Regions from separate parts of the Homo sapiens genome. Here region 2 is linked to region 1. Evidence: promoter capture Hi-C in human tissues and cell types (Jung and others, 2019). All regions are on one chromosome and are shown on one strand. Each heading gives the region's core, a stretch centred on a gene start or on the middle of the fragment in contact. The rest is flanking DNA. Distances are from core to core; before and after follow the strand shown. Region 1 holds the start of SLN (sarcolipin). Region 2 has its middle 4.1 kb from the start of ELMOD1.

What was found. Contacts are between HindIII fragments. The study calls those that stand out against the background at their distance.
Region 2: a contact is called between a fragment that was not itself captured here and the fragment with the promoter of SLN in region 1, in 4 of the 25 tissues and cell types used here (H1 embryonic stem cells, dorsolateral prefrontal cortex, heart right ventricle and 1 more).

Annotation. Positions count from the first base shown.
Region 1 is chr11:107,709,887-107,713,687 of GRCh38, reverse strand. It overlaps SLN (sarcolipin), which reads left to right and starts at 1,632. Exons shown (of 2, transcript NM_003063.3): 1 at 1,632-1,725. The HindIII fragment of the contact is 6,706 bases long and covers 1-3,801 here.
Region 2 is chr11:107,585,148-107,588,948 of GRCh38, reverse strand. It overlaps the pseudogene SUCLG2P3. Among named protein-coding and RNA genes, the nearest start is that of ELMOD1, 4.1 kb to the left of the region's middle. The HindIII fragment of the contact is 4,248 bases long and covers 1-3,801 here.

The DNA of each region.
Region 1 (3,801 bases), core at 383-2,882:
AACCCGGGAGGCGGAGGTTGCAGTGAGCTGAGATCACGCCACTGCACTCCAGCCTGGGTGACAAGAGCAAAACTCCATCTCAAAAGAAAAAAAAAGTAAAGTAAAGTTTTGTTTTTTTCCCCTTTGGGTGGTGAGATTAAAAGTAATTTAAAAGTTTTAAATACTTTAATATATTTTCACATGTCCTACAATAAATATATAACTTTTTTAATTTGACAAAAAATAATTTTGAGTGGTTACAAAAAGGGACAGGTGTGGCTTGGTAACTAGAAAAACATTCCCAGCCTGGGAAACAATCTAGTGAGAGCTTGGAGGCAGAAGACAGAACTCTGATTACATTCAAGGAGTTTGCCAGATGGCAACAGATAACTGCCAATGTTCGGTTGCACTATAATTATTATACACTCTCTGTCACTTCAGCAAGCGCTCTTTTCACAAGACAAGTGGTGACAGAATGTTGTATTAAGATTACCCGTTGCTAAGCTTATGTTAAAATGAGGAAATGAAATGGAAAGTCTTGTTTTGGTAATGTCTCTGGGGTATGAGGAATGGAGGGAAAGGTTTGACTATGAGCATAACTGCATAGAGAATTTTGTTTGTTTATGCCTTTTGGGAATGCATTATTTTGATTGACCCTAATTGGGAATTCAGAGGGGGAGATTTCCTCTATTATCTATAAAGAAAGGATCTGCTGAGCAAACACAATTGCTAGGGTCATGTTTAAAGTACTTAATTGATCTGCTTTCAAGTCTAATTTAACACTTCAGGGGCTCCAAACATGTGATACATTGGTTACAAACTCATCTTAGTCTAATTTTAGTTAGTGTTCATATTAGAAAGTTATATAATACTTTTCTTTCTTTCAGATATATTCTATAATTCACATTTTTCACTAATTTTACCCAGTTCTCCTTCCACTCCCAATCTATCCAAATAACTGAGTTGAACTGTGTGAGTTTACTGCTCTATTAATTTATTGCCAGAGATATACAAACCATGACTTCCTCGGCTGTTTCAGATGAAACTGTAGATCCACGTGTAAACTTGCAATGCACAGCTTAGCTGGAAAGTTACGTGGAGCAGGTGACGGAGGGGATAGCTTTCACTGCTTGGACTAAAGTCAGTTTTGAAAGAGCTAAAGATGCCTATTGAATTCTGGAGTGTGTGTGTGTGTGTATGGGTGTGCATATGTGTGGGTGTAAGGCAGCAAACTCTTCACATTTCAAATAACTAAAGATATGGGTGGTAAAATGAAGTCACATTTTTACACCTCACAGGCTGACTAGGGAGAGCAGTCAAATGCAGCATCGATTGGTTAAAATTAGTCTATCATTCTTGGTTTATGATGTTTTAAAGACATGTTAAAGTTATTCATGAAGATGTAAAAGACACATTTAAAACCCACATCAATTGCACTAAAAGTCAACTGGAAACAGAAGGTTTTTAAATCCTGGTGGTGGCAAATTGGCAGCCAAAGGAACAAAGTCTTAGTCAACATATTTCCATGTCCCCCGAACACAAATAGCCTCGAACCTTCGGAGGGTGTTCCTTTGAGATGTTTCATCAGTGACATCACAGTGATTGCCAGCTTCCACGGACTACTTTAGGCGCTGCCCAGAGTCCAGGAGTCCAGACAGCCTGGGAGGGGAGAAGGAGTTGGAGCTCAAGTTGGAGACAGCGAGGAGAAACCTGCCATAGCCAGGGTGTGTCTTTGATCCTCTTCAGGTAACTGCAGGATTTTTATGCTTAGCATACGGTGTGTGTGTGTGTACAAGCTGCAAATGAGAAAGGCAGAGGAATGTTTGCATTTCTTAATGAAATAGGCAATGCCCCTTGGATACAGCATGCCTTAAGATATAAAGTGAGTACTATTGCTTTCTGTTTTCCTTTTTTTTTCTCCTAAGGGTATGCATTTTCTCCCTTCCTAGTAAAAAAAAATTTTTTTTCTTTCTTGTATTATGGAAGATGGTCTTTTTTCTATCTTCTCTAAGTCTCCATTCAAAGAAAGCCAATGTCAAACTTCCTGCACAATTTATTCAGAGCTTTTTGGGTTTTAGTTCATCCATTTGCAATCACTGGATCATATGGCATGACCTTGACTTCAGGGAATGTTTAAAATGAAACCCAAAGTGTCTTTATTGGTTAAAAGCAGAAAAATGGAACTTGGCTGATCTGAATTTCTGCCTAACTGGTTCATTCTTCCTAAAGTGTATAAATGTGTGTGAAAGGAATGTTCACACCACACCTTACAGTTAGCATATGTGTTGATTGAATTGAATTCACTAGAAATTCTCACCTTAACTCTTCATGTTTTATTCATCTAAAATCACATAAAACAACAAATATTCAAGGTCACCATTAAAGTGCAAGAAGTAGTAAGAGGTAAATCCCAAGAAAGAAAGAAGTGTGATGGGTAGCCTGCTAATTCAGAAATGACTGAAAAAAAAAAAGTTAAGAGTGCATAAACATACACAGTTTAAACAATAACTGAAAGGCAACACTTCTATAATTATCATCCAGGTCAAGAAACAGATCATTGCCAGCACCCAGAAGCCCATTCTTGATCAACCCCCATTCTGCCCCAAGATGTTGGGATCCTCTTGTCCCTGTTATTCTTTATAATTTGACCATCTATGTCTGCATGCCTAAACAATATGATTAACCTCCCTATTTTTGACATCATATAAATGGAGTCATATTCTCTGTTTCTTTTGTAAATTCTTCTTTCACCCAACAATTATATTTGTGAGATCTACCCATTTTCTGTGTAGCTATAGTTCATATATTTTCTTTGCTTTATGAAATTCAAATGTATAACTATACCACAATTTATCATCCATTCTGCTGTTGATAAACATTTGAGTTGTTTCCAGTTTGGAGTTATTGTGATAATATTGCTGTGAACTCTTTATTTATGTAACCTGGCACGCACGTCCTTGACTGTCTTAAGGTAGAAGTGAAATGCCAGATATTAGAGAATGAACATTTTCAACATTAATTCTAAGAAAGCTAAATTGTTTTCCAAAGTGGTTGAAAATTTATGCTAACTTTGTTTAGCCAGGCCAGTTAATTGCAGTGACAATTCACTTGTGTCATAACTCCTAGGAATTCTAGTAACTAGTTCCAGTCTGCTAATTCTAGCTTTGCCTCTAACTTGTTATCTGTCATTACACAAACATCTTAATCTCCTCTCTCTAAAAGTCAGTTTCTCAGCTGTAATCTTGAGAAAGATAAAAACTGCAGTAACACTTGCCTGAGTTGTTGCGAAGGTAACACAAACAGAGCTGTGGAACAGCTTTCAATAGTATTTTTCTCATTTTCTGAGTATATCCTGTTGGATCACTATCCATGATTCCCATGACTTAACAGCTTAATTTAATAGGCAGATTTGGTGGGACCGTTGTTTTGCTCTCCTTGAATTGTTTTGACCATTATAAGCCAGGCTTCATATTTTCTGCTTATCTCTGCATTTCTTGAGAACTTACCCAAATAGATGGACATTTGGACTATGGTTTTATTTCATTGATAAGTTTATAAGAAAGAGTCTGTCTTCGTTTCTCATTCCTTTGCCTCCAGGCACCTTGGCAAGACTCATTACCGTTCTGTTCTCCTCTGCTCTTTTGTACATTCTCATAAATCCTTTTTCCTTGATCCATTCATTTTATTCTGTTTACTTTCTCCTCCATGCAAATCTTTGTAAAGATTTTCTATTTTTTCCCCTTTTTATTTTCTTGGAGAGACAGGGTCTTGCTGTGTTATCCAGGCTGGTCTTGAACTCCTAGGCTCAAGTGATCCTCCCAC
Region 2 (3,801 bases), core at 645-3,144, 130 kb after region 1:
TGACTTTTACTCCTTTCAGTTGATTCCCTCAGCTAAAACTTTCCTAAACTCAAACCACTCAAGGTAGGTAGCTGCAATCCCATGTGATGAATGGAAAATGGTAGGGGAGGGCTAGAGAGTTTAATCTCCACAACAAATTATATCCTTTATCTAACCTTTAGGAATGGCATTTCTAAAATGTCCAGAATCAACCTGGATCCCCAGATCTCCTGCATCCCAAAAGTCTCTTCCAGGGTCTTGCACACCACTCCCACCCTCTCACCTTTTCACCATCTTTGGCCTCTATTTATGTCAATAGTTATTCTCTGTCATACATCTTCTGTTTGAATCTACCTACTGTCTGAATGACAAGCTTTTCTCTCTGATTCTCTTATTGTCTAAGTGTGAGGCAGCCTTGGTATCACTTAGAACTGACTTCTTCAAAGCATATTTGTACACATGTATGCCATAGCAATTAGAGACAATCTCGCCACTGTTTAATGTGAGTAATTCAAGGGGAGGGTCTCATTCATCTTTGTATTACAGAACTTAGCAGATGACCAATATGTAATAGATACTCAAGGAAAAGTGTGAAAGGAATGAATGAATGTAAGCAGGTTCTCAACTCTATGTGGCTCCTTAGACTATAGTTCTTTTCTAATTGGTTTTCTTGCTAACCCTAGAATTGCTTCACCAGGATCTGGCTCAGTTTTTCTTTTCATAATTTCTCTTCCACCACAAATCCACAGATTTCTCCACCTCTGGGTCCTGCATTATTTTGGGATAAAAATACCTATTGAACAGATTAACATGCAGTCAACAGAGAGGGTATTTGAAGAAACTGAGATCATGTGATGTAGCATTTACAGGTAATGAGTGAAGAATCCAGAGAGGAGAATGTTGTGCCTCTACAGCCTCCCCAGAGTTACAGCCGGAGAGCTGAAGAGGAAGGGGAAGAGCTAGGAGATGCTTTGTCATCAGCTTAGACTCCATACTGGCCCATTACAAGTGACACAGAATTTGAGTCTTTTCCAGACAGGTGGATATATTTCCTTGCTCAGAAGATCTGTTACTGAACATTATCATTTAGAATTTATTTGACTATAAATGTCCTCACCTAGAAATGTCTTCCTTTAGCAAAGGGTAGATTGAGCAATGGACAAGCAAGTTGGAATTTCCTGCCTGGATCATTTTGTGGGTGGGGTGGAAGTCATGGCCCATTTATGTATTTGTAATCTAGCACTGGTCTTAAGCACTGTGGGAGGAAAGTATTCTTCGATGTATTGGCTTCATAATAAAACTAGAAAGGGAATCTTTGGACTTAAAAAGCATGAAGTCTTGTCTAATTTTGCCTAATTGTTGTGTAAAGCTTAGAAATTAATGTAAGGCCACTCTGCTTTCCAATGGAATGGATTTTATAGGCTTATGGTATTCTGGACGTAAAACCACAGCAGCAGCTGGATTCAACATGCTCATTAATATCTATAGTGATAAAATTGTGACTGAGATTACATGAGGGTTAATCATCATGTTAGAGAATGCGTTAAACTAAACAAACTAAGACTCTCAGACATGCTGCTGTGGCAGTCCTCTAAATGTGATCTCGAGAGGGTTTCCAGTGGCACAAGGACTCATCCAAACCGTAATTCATGTCATAACCATTTATTAAGCACTTAGTATATATAAGGCACTATACTAGATACTGGGGATACAAAGCTGGATAAGACACTATGATTTTCAGGAACTCAGATCTGGACAGAAGCATACACACCGCTCCCTGCCCCAACACACACACACACAATGTAGGCTTTTTCTCAAGGTTGGTTTCCAATGTAGAATTAAATCTGTATGAAGTACCCTTCTCGCTGGGCATGGTGGCTGTTTCCTATAGTCCCCATTACTTGGGAGGCTGAGGTGGGAGGATCAATTGAGCCCAGGAATTTGAGACCAGCTTGGGCAACATAGTGAGACCCATCTCAATAAAATGAGGAAAAAAGGTCCCTTCTTCTCTCATCTCAGTTACCTAGTCAGACTCCTCTGTGCCTGGTTTTTGTTTAAGGTGTCATTCTCCTATGACAATGCAGGTCAAAAAATTTTGTGAATGCTGGTGCTCAGGCCCCACTCCTTTCAGAGAAGTCCAAGGGAGTTGAATTAACATCTAAAAGATGGCTGCTCCTGCAGGTACCTAAGAGCAAGAAACTGATGTCAGAAAACAGGGTAAAAGTTAGAATATTTCGTAACTGGCACTGGGTGTGATGTTCCCACAATAAAGTTTTAATGGGCTAATCCTGCAATGGCCTTTACTGATGGCAGCCTCCAGGAGAGGCGTTATAAGTGGCAGCTTCTTACCGGAATTTATTTTTAAGGAGGAAATTTACATTTTGAGGGCATAGAGAACAGTCAAGTTTAGTAAAGGGGAGAAAATGTAGGCTTCTACAGGTCTACAAAAATCAGGCTTAACCAGCTGTTTTACTGCTTCCTGAAATTATATGCTACTTAGCTTGAAGTGAAACCTTTGGTGAAACTCTGGAATGATAGGTTGTCTATTTTGATGTCATGATAAACCTTGAGGACAATGCAGAATGTCCACAAAAAACATATTTGGCATGGCCAACAAATTCAAGGTGTGTCTATCGAAAATGAAGCAACCAGATATGATCTAAAATTAAAACTAGATGGGAATCCTTACTAAGTGATGCTGGGCCATACATGGCTCTCTGAGACGTTATTACCCTTAATGATCAAAGCCCAGCCAACTTCTTAGATATTAGCAGTAGTGTAGAGGAAGCTCAGGTGTACTAAACATTTAAATTGCTCATTGCTGATCCTAAGTTTGAAATCACCGTCAACATTGTTTTAGGTGTGATAGTGAATTTTGCTGTCATTGCCAATGGCATCATCAAACACTGCTGAGAACTAGAACTCATGGCCCCTCTGGTGGTCAAGTTTGAAGGATTCAATGTCCAGGGGCCTTAAAATATGCTTAATAGCATCTAACTAACTCCCCATTACTTATGGCATTGACTTGGAGGATACAGCTAAGAAGGCTGTGGCCAGCATGGCAAAGAAATAGCCATGCTTCTTCTTTCTAATCCACTGGGAGGAGAAATCTCCATCCTAAAAAAAGGGGTGAATATCATCACTGAGAAAAAAATATCTATCCACTTGGGGAAAAAGGGGAAGGTGTAGAAGAGGGTCAGTAATCAGTAATAAAAAATCTTAAAGCTGTTCTGTATTTTCATGAATAGATATACAGATAGCCTAAATAATTCTGATTTCACATACAATCTTCATTAAAATAATGGTCTGTTTTTGCATGTTATGTTCTTTATCATGGTAAACCTGTCCATAGACAGTAAGTACTTGGCAAACAACGTGGATATAGTGAAAACTTTGAATCAGGCCCTAGTTATTTAAGAGAATTCTGCTGGACGTTTAGTTTAGAAGAATTAAAAAACTAGAGACAAAATCTCAGGCAAAATTACATTTCAAACAGATGGCTTGGTCATATTAAACTATTGAAAGGACACGACTAATACATTCTAACAATAGTTATTAGGCATTACAACATTTTAACAAGTTTCTTATTCTGGTATGTATGGCAAATTTGTGAGGTTGTTTTATTCCAAAATATTTTCTAATGCAAAAAATCCACATTTATACCCCACATGAGGATTGTATGATTTGACTTAATCTTTCTACTATTTACCTCACAATAAACATAAACACTAAGGCTTATTTGTGCCTATGGAACAGAAGTTTATTTTTATCTCAAAACTGAAGAATTCTGTCACTTTTGTCACCCAGCCTGGAGTGCAATGG